Linked DNA regions of Homo sapiens: regions 1 and 2 are each linked to region 3. The links are contacts of gene promoters, found by promoter capture Hi-C in human tissues and cell types (Jung and others, 2019). All regions are on one chromosome and are shown on one strand. Each heading gives the region's core, a stretch centred on a gene start or on the middle of the fragment in contact. The rest is flanking DNA. Distances are from core to core; before and after follow the strand shown. Region 1 overlaps LOC107984421 (a long non-coding RNA gene). Region 2 has its middle 7.2 kb from the start of KCNE3. Region 3 holds the start of FAM168A (family with sequence similarity 168 member A).

Region 1 (3,236 bases), core at 219-2,718, 790 kb before region 3:
GGTTACAATGAGCTATGATTGTGCCATCGCACTCTAGCCTGGAGAGCAGAGTGAGACTCTGTCCAAAAAAAAAAAAAAAAAAAGAGGAAGAAGCAAAGTGTAGAAGTGTGTAAATGCTACTCTTTTTCTGTGGGTTTTTTTTGTTTTAGACAAGGTCTCACTCTGTCACCCAGGCTGAGTGCAGTGGCATGGTCACAGCTCAATGCAACCTCTGCCTCCTGAGCTCAAGTGATCCTCCCACCCCAGCCTCTGGAGTAGCTGGGACTACAGGCATGTGCCACCATGCCTGGCTAAATTTTGTATTTTTAGAAGAGACAGGGTTTCGCCATGTTGCCCAGGCTAGTCTCAGACTCCTGGGCTCAAGTGATCTGCTCGCCTCAGCATCCCAAAGTGCAGGGATTACAGGCGTGAGCCACTGTGCCTGTTCCCCTTTGTGTTTTATGTGTCGTATATGCATAAATATTTCTGGAAGTATACACTCTGTAGTGTTAGTGGTGATGCTTTTAGAGGAGGAGACTGGGAAAGTGGTGTGTGTTAGCCACAGTGATGTATCCACACCCATTTCTCTTTTCCAGGGACTATGGAAAGACTACATTTCTCAACCTTCCTAGTAGATGTGATGTCACCAGTCGGAATTGGGCAGAAGAATGTATCACTTCAGTCCAAGGCAATTAAGTGTTAGTGTCAATCTTTTCCCTCTCCCCTACCCCAATCTGAGCAGTTGGAATCAAATAACTGAGATTATGGTGATGTCAGAAGGATTTAAGTCCCTGCTGGGGGAGAACAGCACACCATCATTGTCTAATGTGGGATGAGTAAGAAATAAGCCTTTGTTGTTTTAAGCGACTGAGATTTGGAGTTTTATTTAGTATCCACATGTGGTGGATTAAAGATGGCCAGACTTTTTTGACATTCCTTTTTTAATTTTTTTTTGAGACAGTCTCATTCTGTCACCCAGGCTGGAATGCAATGGCACAATCTCGGCTCACTGCAAACTCCACCTCCTGGGTTCAAGCGATTCTCCTGCCTCAGCCTCCTGAATAGCTGGGATTACAGGCGTGCGCCACCACATCCGGCTAATTTTTGTATTTTTAGTAGAGACGGGGTTTCACCACGTTAGTCAGGCTGGTCTCAAACTCCTGACCTCAGATGATCCGCCCGCCTTGACCTCCCAAAGTGCTGGGATTACAGGTGTGAGCCATCGTGCCTGGCTTGACATTCCTTTCATTGAAGGCTGGGGCCTATGTCCCCTCTCCTTCAATCTGGGCTGGTCCGTGACTGCTTTGGTTAATAGAATGCAGAGGAAGTGATGTGTTCTAATTTCAGGGTCAAACCGTAAGAGACTGGCAGCTTTCATACTGTTGGATGCATGTTTTGGGATGCCTCCCTCTCAGAATCTAGCCACCATGTTCTGAGAAACCTAAGCCATGTGAAGGGGCCACATGTAGGTGCTTTGGTTTGCAGCTCCGACCCTCTAGCCAATAGATGGCATCTCCTGCCAGCCAAATGAGTGAGCCATCAACAGTAACCTGCCCAGCTGAGTCTTCAGGTAACTCCAGTCCTGGTGTGATCGCAGTCACATAAGCCATTCAAAGTAAGAATCACCAGTTGAGTTCAGCCAACAGTCATGGGCAATATTAGAAATCACTGTACTGCCAGGTGCGGTGGCTCACGCCTGTAATCCTAGCACTTTGGGAGGCTGAGGCGAGCAGATTGCCTGAGCTCAGGAGTTTGAGACCAGCCTGGGCAACGTGGTGAAACCCTGTCTCTACTAAAATACAAAAAATTAGCCAGGTGTGGCAGCGTGTGCCTGTAGTCCCAGCTACTCGGGAGGCTGAGGCAGGAGAATTGCTTGAATCTGGGAGGCGGAGGTTGCAGTGAGCCCAGATTGCCAAGATCATGCCACTGCACTCCAGACTGGGAGACAGAGCGAGACTCCATCTCTGGAAGAAAAAAAAAAAAAAAGAAATCACTGTAACCACAGACCAGCCTGTCCTATCCTGATCAATATGAAGGTGTGAGGCAAACAGGCTCACTTTTGTACTATTTCAATTCTTTGCTATGTGCATGTGATTGGTTTTCCAATTTAAAAAATAGCTACTTTTTTTTTTTTTAAACTGAGTCTTGCTCTTTCGCCCAGGCTGGAGTGCAATGGCACGATCTCAGCTCACTGCCACTTCTGCCTCCCAGGTTCAAGTGATTCTCCCCGCTCAGCCTCCCAAGCAGCTAGGATTATAGGCACCTGCCACCACTCCCGGCTAATTTTTGTATTTTTAGTAGAGACGTGGTTTCACTATGTCGGCCAGGCTGGTCTCGAACTCCTGACTTCAGGTGATCCACCGCCTCGGACTCCCAAAGTGCTGGGATTACAGGCGTGAGCCACTATACCCAGCCAAAAAATAGCTACATTTTTTATTTCAAAACTTCTAAGCACTGGACCATGCAAACTTTGGTTTTTTCTTTTTGATACACAGCAACAGCAATTTATTTACGGATTACCTACTCAGTTGGTGCCAAGCCTGGTTCTAGATGCTGAAGACAGAGCCTAGATCAAGATTGACTTGGTCCTGGCTTTCCTGAAGTTCCCAGCCTGGTAGAAGAGACATAATAAACAACTAGCAAACACAGAAATGTGATTCTTTCTGGGAGTATTAGGTGCTCTGAAAGGAAGAACAAGGGTGATGTGATAGACGCTGATTGGGATGGGAGCTTTTTCAGATTGGATGACAGGAAAGGTCTTCTGAAATCTGCCTGGTATGTAGGAGCTAGCCTCTAAAAGTTGTGGAGGAAGAGCACTAGGAGAGGGGTGCAGCCAGGGCAAAGCCTCCAAGGTGGGGCTAAGCTTGGCAGTGGGATTTCAGTGCAGTGAATAAGGCTAAAGAGTAGGAAGAGGTAAGATCAGTGATGTGGGCAGGGGCCAGATCAAGCAGGGCCTTGAAGGCCATGGTAAAGGGTTTGGTATTTGCTTTGACTATGCTGGAGAGCCTTTCAAGGGTTTTAAGCAAGAGGAACTTGAGATGACTTAAGATTTTTGTTTTTGTTTTTGAGACAGTCTTGTTCTGTTGCTCAGGCTGGAGTGCAGTGGCGCAATCTTGGCTCACTGAAACCTCTGCTTCCTGGGTTCAAGTGATTCTCCTGCCTCAGCCTCCCAAGTAGCTGGGATTACAGGCGTGCGCCACCATGCCTGGATAATTTTTGTATTTTTAGTAGAGACGGGGTTTCTCCATGTTGGTCAG
Region 2 (3,648 bases), core at 1,144-3,643, 880 kb after region 3:
GGCGGGTGGATTACCTGAGGTCAGGAGTTCAAGACCAGACTGGCCAACATGGTGAAACCTATCTCTATTAAAAATACAAAAAATTAGCCAGGCGTGGTGGCGGGCACCTGTAATCCTAGCTACTTGGGAGGCTGAGGCAGGAGAATTGCTCAATCCCAGGAAGTGAAGGTAGCAGTGAGCCGAGATCATGCCATTGAACTCCAGCCTGGGCGACAGAGCAAGGCTCTGTCTCAGGGGAAAAAAAAAAAAAAAAAAAAAAGATAGGCAAGTGAGGTGGAATTGAGCTGAATACCAATAACTCAATAACTCCTCCCAGGTTCCCAGCATTTTGCAGGGCTTAGCATACCCCGTCCATCCTCTAACTGTGGATTAGGGCTGTGCGTCACCAGGGTCCAGGTAGGAAACAGATGGCACCCTGAAAATGGGTAATTCAGAGTGTGGCGAGGGCTTAGGAAATCAAGACAAAATAGTGCAGTATGTCTGGCTAGCAACAGTGAGGATGAAAACTACCTGGGCTGACAGGGCAAGGGGAGGAAGGGGTTACTGGAACTCAGAGAGGGCAGTGGTGGGGAGGGCATCTCGGCTGGAGCTGTGGCCTTTGGTAGAGGCTAACCTCTCGCAGGGAGAGAGCCAGGGGAACAAGCACCTTTCCCTCTCTCCCCTCCCATCCTGTGGTCTTCTACCACTGCCTCCTGTTGGCTCAACCCAGTTGGAAGCTCCAGAGTCAGGCGGCCTACTGTGGGTGGAGAAGGGTGGTGAACCCATGAAGGGACACGTGGAAGGATCCAGCACAGGCAGTGCATCTGTCAGATGAGTAGGGTCCTCCCCTGATCCTTTTCAGCGTGCTCCAGGCAAGGGGTGGGAGGAAGGAGTAGAAGAACTAAGGAATGTGGGTGGAGGATGCGAGCTTGGGTTTTCACCCCAGAAAGGAGCAGGAGGGGACAATCTCAGTTCCTCAAATATCCACATACTCTCTGTCATCTTCAGGCCTTTGCCTATGCTGTTCTCTCTGCCTGGAACATACTTCCTCCTGGGGCCGGCTAACTCACCCTTAGATGCTACTTCCTCCCGGAAATCTCCCCTGCCCTAAATTAGATGCCTTTGTCTGTGTCCCCTGACTGCTCCCATCCCACGTATCTCCCCTTTTTCATATGTATCATCCTTGTGTAAGTCCCTGTTCTTGGGCAGGGTACAGTCTGATATGGGAAGAATGGCCCTGACTGCATGGAAAATGTTGCTCTCACTGGGAGAGCCCCTAGTCCAAGAGGGAGCAATAGACGAAGCAGCCCCTGGGGGGATCAGAATGCTGTTTGGTTTTTGGTGCTTCTAATCTTCTACCTCCAAAGTCATCAATGTTTAGAAAACAAGCAACAGATGTGGGTGTCTTTACTGGAGGTCTGGCTGAACCTACAGAGAAGGAGGGATTCCCTAATTCTTCTTAGTGATAAGAGACCACCTGGATGGTGCTGACACAGGCACAAGCCAAGAAAGGGGTCAGCCAAGGATCATCGGCCCTGGGACCTGGGCCAAGTCACTGCCCCACTTTGAGCCTCTGTGTTCCTCACTTGCACAACAACAATCTTGGTCCTGCAAACCTTGCAGTGTTCCAAGGAGCAAATGGACTCACAGCTGAGAAGGCACTTTGAAAACCATGAAATGCTTATTATTGCCTTCCCCTCAGACCAGGAGCTCCTGGAAGGAGGGGCTGTACCTCAGATGTTATGCATATTTGTTATCCCACCTAAGTAAATAGGATAGTGTGGCAGCAAAACAAAACAAAAACAAAAAGTGTTGACACTGACTTAAGCTTTGTTTTTAGAAGAATGTGTTTGGGGCTATCTTGGATTCTCCCAGAAGCAGGCCCTGGGACATGGATTTGAGTACAAGTGGTTCATGTGTGACGTGATCCCAGGAAACACAATTAGAAGAGTGGTGAAGTAACACAGGAGTGAATGGAGCCTTTCATAAGGTGTACCCTTAGCAAGCTTAGCCCTGCTAGGGAACCCTAGAGGCCTGGGTAGAACACACATCCAGAGTTACCCCTCATTAGAGGCAAGGGGGCTAGGGGAGTCAGTCATTGGCTGAGGGCTGCTCGGGGGATATGAATTCTCCAGCATGTCCAGCCTGACACATGGGTTGACAGCCCCGGTCCCTCCAAAAGTCCTGAGAAAAAAGGTACAGATGCTGGCAGGTGGAAATAGACACTGAAATGTCTATTTCTCTTCTTCTTCTTCTTCTTTTTTTTTTTTTAAGACAGGGTCTCACTCTGTCACCCAGGCTCCAGGCTGGAGTGCAGTGGTGATGATCTTGGCTCATTGCAGCCTTCACTTCCTGGACTCAAGCAATCTTTTTGCCTCAGCTTCCCAAGTAGCTGGGACTACAAGTGTACGCCACCATGCCCGGCTAATTTTTGCATTTTTTGTAAAGACAGGCTTTTACTACGTTGCCCAGGCTGGTCTCAAACTCCTGAGCTCAAGTGATCCTCCTGCCTCGGCCTCCCAAAGTGCTGATATTACAGGATTGTGCCACTGTGCCCAGCCTGAAATGACTGTTTCTAACAGATATTTGAAATGGCACTGAAATGGAAGGGCCAGGCAAATATACATGGAGCACCTAAAACACCTGCTATAGTCTGGGGCAAGATAGGCACTTGAGTTCCCCAGATTAGCTTCACACTTCAGAGACTCTCATGCTTCTTATTCTGCCTGGAACACACCATGTCTTCTTATCTATCCCACAATTCTTATCTTCTGAAGCCATAGTGGACATCTGATGTCTTGGCCTTCCCAGAATTCCTTCTTTTGGGAATAGAACCTCTCTCTTCCTTTTGGGGAGTCACCCTTCCCTCTCTTGCTCTCAGCCCATATGGTTCAGGTGGGGCTAAGCCCCATCTGTTTGTTCCAAGAGGGTCATGACGCTCCTTGGAGTGATGATTTATCCAGAATCCTTCCTGGGCCTTAGGCTGAATGTATACGGAAGTAAGGGTGGCTAAGCTATAGAATCTAAGTGTGGTGTGACCAACAGCCATCTTTGGCACCACACAGGAGAGAGTGAAGCCAATTCTGAGGTCAGCAGAGCTAAGGAATAGAGGAAGAAAAACCAAGTCCTGATGCCATTGTTTGAGTCCCTGGATCAATCTGTGCCTGAAGTCTATCCACAGACTTTTCAGTTATGAGATCTAAAATATTCTCTTTTCACTTGAGCTAGTTTGAGCTGGGTTTCCTGTTACCTACAACCCAAAGTCCTCACTAATTCAGTGTCACTTTGAGCCTTTTCTGCCCTCATCCTCCCTTTTAAGACTTAGTACTTCTTTTATTTCCCCACAGTTCCCTATGCAAGCTTCTCTCAGTGTGTATAACACTTTACTGCATGTGTTTGTTTACAGGTGTGTCTTCTCTACAAGGCGGTGAGCTCCTTGAAGATGGACCAAGTTGGATCCATCTCTGTCCTCAGGGTCCAGCACAGGCTGGAACCTGGCCAGACCATACCATACATGTTATCTTCAAGCTGCATAGATTAAGGGCACATTAGCCAATTGGAGCCTATGGAGATGAGGGCAGTGGTGTGGGGTCTGGAAGCCATGAAGAACATAAGAATAAGGAATGTTTAACTTGAAGTAGAGACCACTTCTGAGACAATCCATTCTCT
Region 3 (3,413 bases), core at 661-3,160:
AAGCAAGGAATGCACCCTTAACAATCTCAAGCTCATCAAATCTATTTAAATTTCAAAATGCCTGGCTAGTTTTTAAATACACCAGGAGGAGAGGGGAAAAGAAAAGGCAGAGACATCATATAGAAAGATATCCATTACATTCCAGTTTATCTTCTCCCACCTTTAGTTTGGAAGTATGCTTTTTTCCCCCAACTTACTTTTTATGATATACAAATAACAGAAGACACCCTCCCCTCCTTAATTCTACCTTAACTAAATCCCCTTTCAACTTTACCCTTTGGGCTGACTTGACTTCCAAATTTTACTAATATAAATAAAACAAACAAAAACATCACCCGAACAGATTAAAATGGCCCCTAAGAATGAGAAGGTCTCTTCCGTGTCCCCTGCAAAGTCCCCTCTAACAGCCTTACTGCCTCTCACCCAACCACAGCCACCAAGGCTGTTCATTTAAGTATTCCAACCCTTAACCCTCATGTGTCTCTTGGAGGCCACCCCAATCCTTCACCACCAAAATAATCCAACCCAATTCCCCCCTGCTCTCCAGCACAGCTCACTGTCCCTCTCCATCCTCTCTGCCCCATCCATACCAACAGCTCCAGGTCTCCCATTCCTTAAATTTCCCCTGTGCCACCTCACCATCAGCAACCACCTCCCCAGGCCTACCAGCTCATCTCCGAAAGTCCTTCTCCAAAACTCCCTCTGCCACCTTGGCCAAGGGATATTTTCTTCAAGATACCATCCCCCAACTTTGCTCACCCCTGCCGCTATCCTTTCAATGAAAGCAGCCCAGTGATGTTTTATGTGCCCTCTGCCTTGACTCTGCAACCAAGGAGCCACCATGCCCTTTCCAGTGATTGTAAGATCACCCTAAATCCAACCCACTGTGCCCCACACTCCATTTCCATCCCTGTCCTCCCATTTCGGGCCTGACTTCCAATGTGGCCCCTTCCTGCCAGCTCACCATCACACTCCCCTCACTGAATGTCCCACCTCCACCAACTCCTATTCCAACCTCCATCAGCCCACCCCAGGAAACCCCCAAATTGCACTCTTCTGCTCTATCCTAACCCATGCTATTCCATAAGTCTCCACAAATTCCACCAGCCCCAGATGACAAACACCCACTTCAAGCTTGGGTCTCAACCCATGCCAAGCCCCTCACCCCCAACTCCTGCCACCTCCATCATCCTGCCCCAGGTCCACCCCAAATTCCACCCTTCTGAATTAACACTACGCAGGGCCCTAACCAACCCTGTACATGCCACTCACTCTCCGTTGAAATCATTCCCCTGCCCCTCACCCCAGCTCAGATCCCAAGCTGTCAACTGCTCCAGGCCAAACCCAAATCACCACCCTCATTCAGTCCCCTCCCCCATTAAAAGCCATCCCACCCTAGTCTCATCTTCCACCTCGCCCCAAGACCATCCCGAATTCCAACCCGACGCCCCCACCCCACTCTCCTGTCCCAGGTTGGGTTATTCTCCATCAAAAGTCCTCCTCCCTTGTCGCCCGCCCCCCAACCTGCTTGGGTCCCACCCTCACCCCACCCCCGGCCAGCGCCTGGACAAGTCTCCCCCGCCAGCCCGCCGTTCCATCGCGACCTCAACCCCCTCCCCCCAACCTGCACGGGGGCTCCGCAGCCTCCCCTCTCATTCTCGCCAGCGCCACCGGCCCAGACTCAGGACCAGCGGACCCTGTGGCGGGGGGAGTCTCCTCACCGGTGAGCAGCTGCAGGCGAAAACGGCGGCGGCGGCGGCTGAGGCGGCGATGCCCTTGTCTTCTCCGGAGGCTACGGCGGCGACGCTCTCGCCCGTGTCCAGTAGGGTGGCGGATGGCGCGCGGGGACCGGAGCCTCCTCCTCAGCGACTCGGCTCTGAATCCTCTGCAGTAGCCGCCGAGGAGCCCGACGGGTGGGGGGAGGGGACGCTCGGCTGCGGGCGAGGGAGGAGGAGGCGGAGGGAGGAGGCGGGGGACCGCTCAGAAGGGCAGGGAAGGAGGAGCCGGCGCGGCGCCGCGACACGTCCCACAGCCTCAGAGCGCCGGGACCACAACTCCCGGCATGCCCTGCTTTAGCCCGCGCGCGGCCTGCGCCTCCCGCCGCGAGCCCGGTGCAGAGGGGCCGCGCCCTCTCCGGTCACGGACAGTGGAATAAAGCCAACCATCCGCTGGCGAATTTTGTAGACTCAAAGACCACCTGTGAGGAAAGTCAGGTCGCCCGAGGCCCCATCCCCAAGGGGCCGTACTCGCAGCGTCTCCATCCTCTTTGCATAGACACCCCCCTCCCCCCGCCCACACACACACACACACTCTCTGTCTCTCCCTCTCTCCCTCTCTCCCTCTCTCCCTCTCCCTCTCGTCTCTGTCTCTGGACTACACCTCCCAGCATGCCCCTCAGCTTCCTATTCTCCTTCCGGACCCTTCTCAGACCCGGTACTACAGTTCCCAGGGAGTGTGGTCCCTGCGAAATGCTGGGAGATGGAGTTCTCGGTTCTTCCTCCATGTTAAGAAAAAGAAGTGAAAGAGAGGCAAAAGGGAAGGAATACGCCAGCCCACCGAGGATGGGCCTTGATGGGCTAGATCACCTGTGATTCTGTTCATCCCTCGCCATCTCCGTTTCAGCTGTCTCTCACCAGAACTAATGCCGGAGCTTCCTCGCTGGTCTCCCTGCAAATTTGAGGACGATTCGGCAACTTGAATCCAAACGACAAAGGGCATATCCTCTTCTTGACCCAGCTCCATTACTTTTAAGAATTTACCTTAAAAAGATGATCGAACAATTTCGAAAAGATGAATGCACAAAGTTGTTATATGACGTAGTTAATTATGAAGGGAGTAAATGTTCATCGATAGGGTGCTGCTTAAATAAGACGTGACATATACATACAATGCAATACTAAGGAGCCATTTAAAATGATATAAATCTATTGACATGAAAAGCTATTCACAATTTATTCTTCGGGGAAAAAGTTGATTACACAACAGCATGTCTACACGAGTGCATTTATGTGAGGTTTGACACAATATTCTACAAGCATGGAGAGATTTCAGGAAAGAGGTTCGCCAAAATATTAGCAATGATTATCTTGGGGGAAAGGGTGTCAGATTGCACGTAGGTTTTTTTTGTTTTTTGAGACGGAGTCTGGATCTATAGCCAGGCTGGAGTAAAGTGGGGGCGATCGCAGGTCACTGCAACCTCTGCCTCCCGGGTTCAAGCGATTCTCCTGCCTCAGCCTCCTGAGTAGCTGGGACTACAGGCGCGCGCCACCACATCCAGCTAATTTTTGTATTTTTAGTAGAGATGGGGTTTCACTATATTGGCCAGGATGGTCTCGATTTCTTGACCTCCTGACCTGCCCGCCTCAGCCTCCCAAAGTGCTGGGATTACAGGCATGAGCCACAATGCCCGACTG

Evidence for each region. Contacts are between HindIII fragments. The study calls those that stand out against the background at their distance.
Region 1: a contact is called between a fragment that was not itself captured here and the fragment with the promoter of FAM168A in region 3, in 1 of the 25 tissues and cell types used here (dorsolateral prefrontal cortex).
Region 2: a contact is called between a fragment that was not itself captured here and the fragment with the promoter of FAM168A in region 3, in 1 of the 25 tissues and cell types used here (spleen).

What each region holds. Positions count from the first base shown.
Region 1 is chr11:72,807,942-72,811,177 of GRCh38, forward strand. All of the region lies in intron 1 of LOC107984421 (a long non-coding RNA gene), which reads right to left. Among named protein-coding and RNA genes, the nearest start is that of ATG16L2, 4.9 kb to the right of the region's middle. RefSeq lists a silencer at 1-4. The HindIII fragment of the contact is 4,988 bases long and covers 1-3,236 here.
Region 2 is chr11:74,472,971-74,476,618 of GRCh38, forward strand. No RefSeq gene overlaps it. Among named protein-coding and RNA genes, the nearest start is that of KCNE3, 7.2 kb to the left of the region's middle. The HindIII fragment of the contact is 4,261 bases long and covers 264-3,648 here.
Region 3 is chr11:73,596,202-73,599,614 of GRCh38, forward strand. It overlaps FAM168A (family with sequence similarity 168 member A), which reads right to left and starts at 1,911. Exons shown (of 8, transcript NM_015159.3): 1 at 1,722-1,911. RefSeq lists an enhancer at 1,245-1,973 and silencers at 1,865-1,994, 2,125-2,354. The HindIII fragment of the contact is 9,297 bases long and covers 185-3,413 here.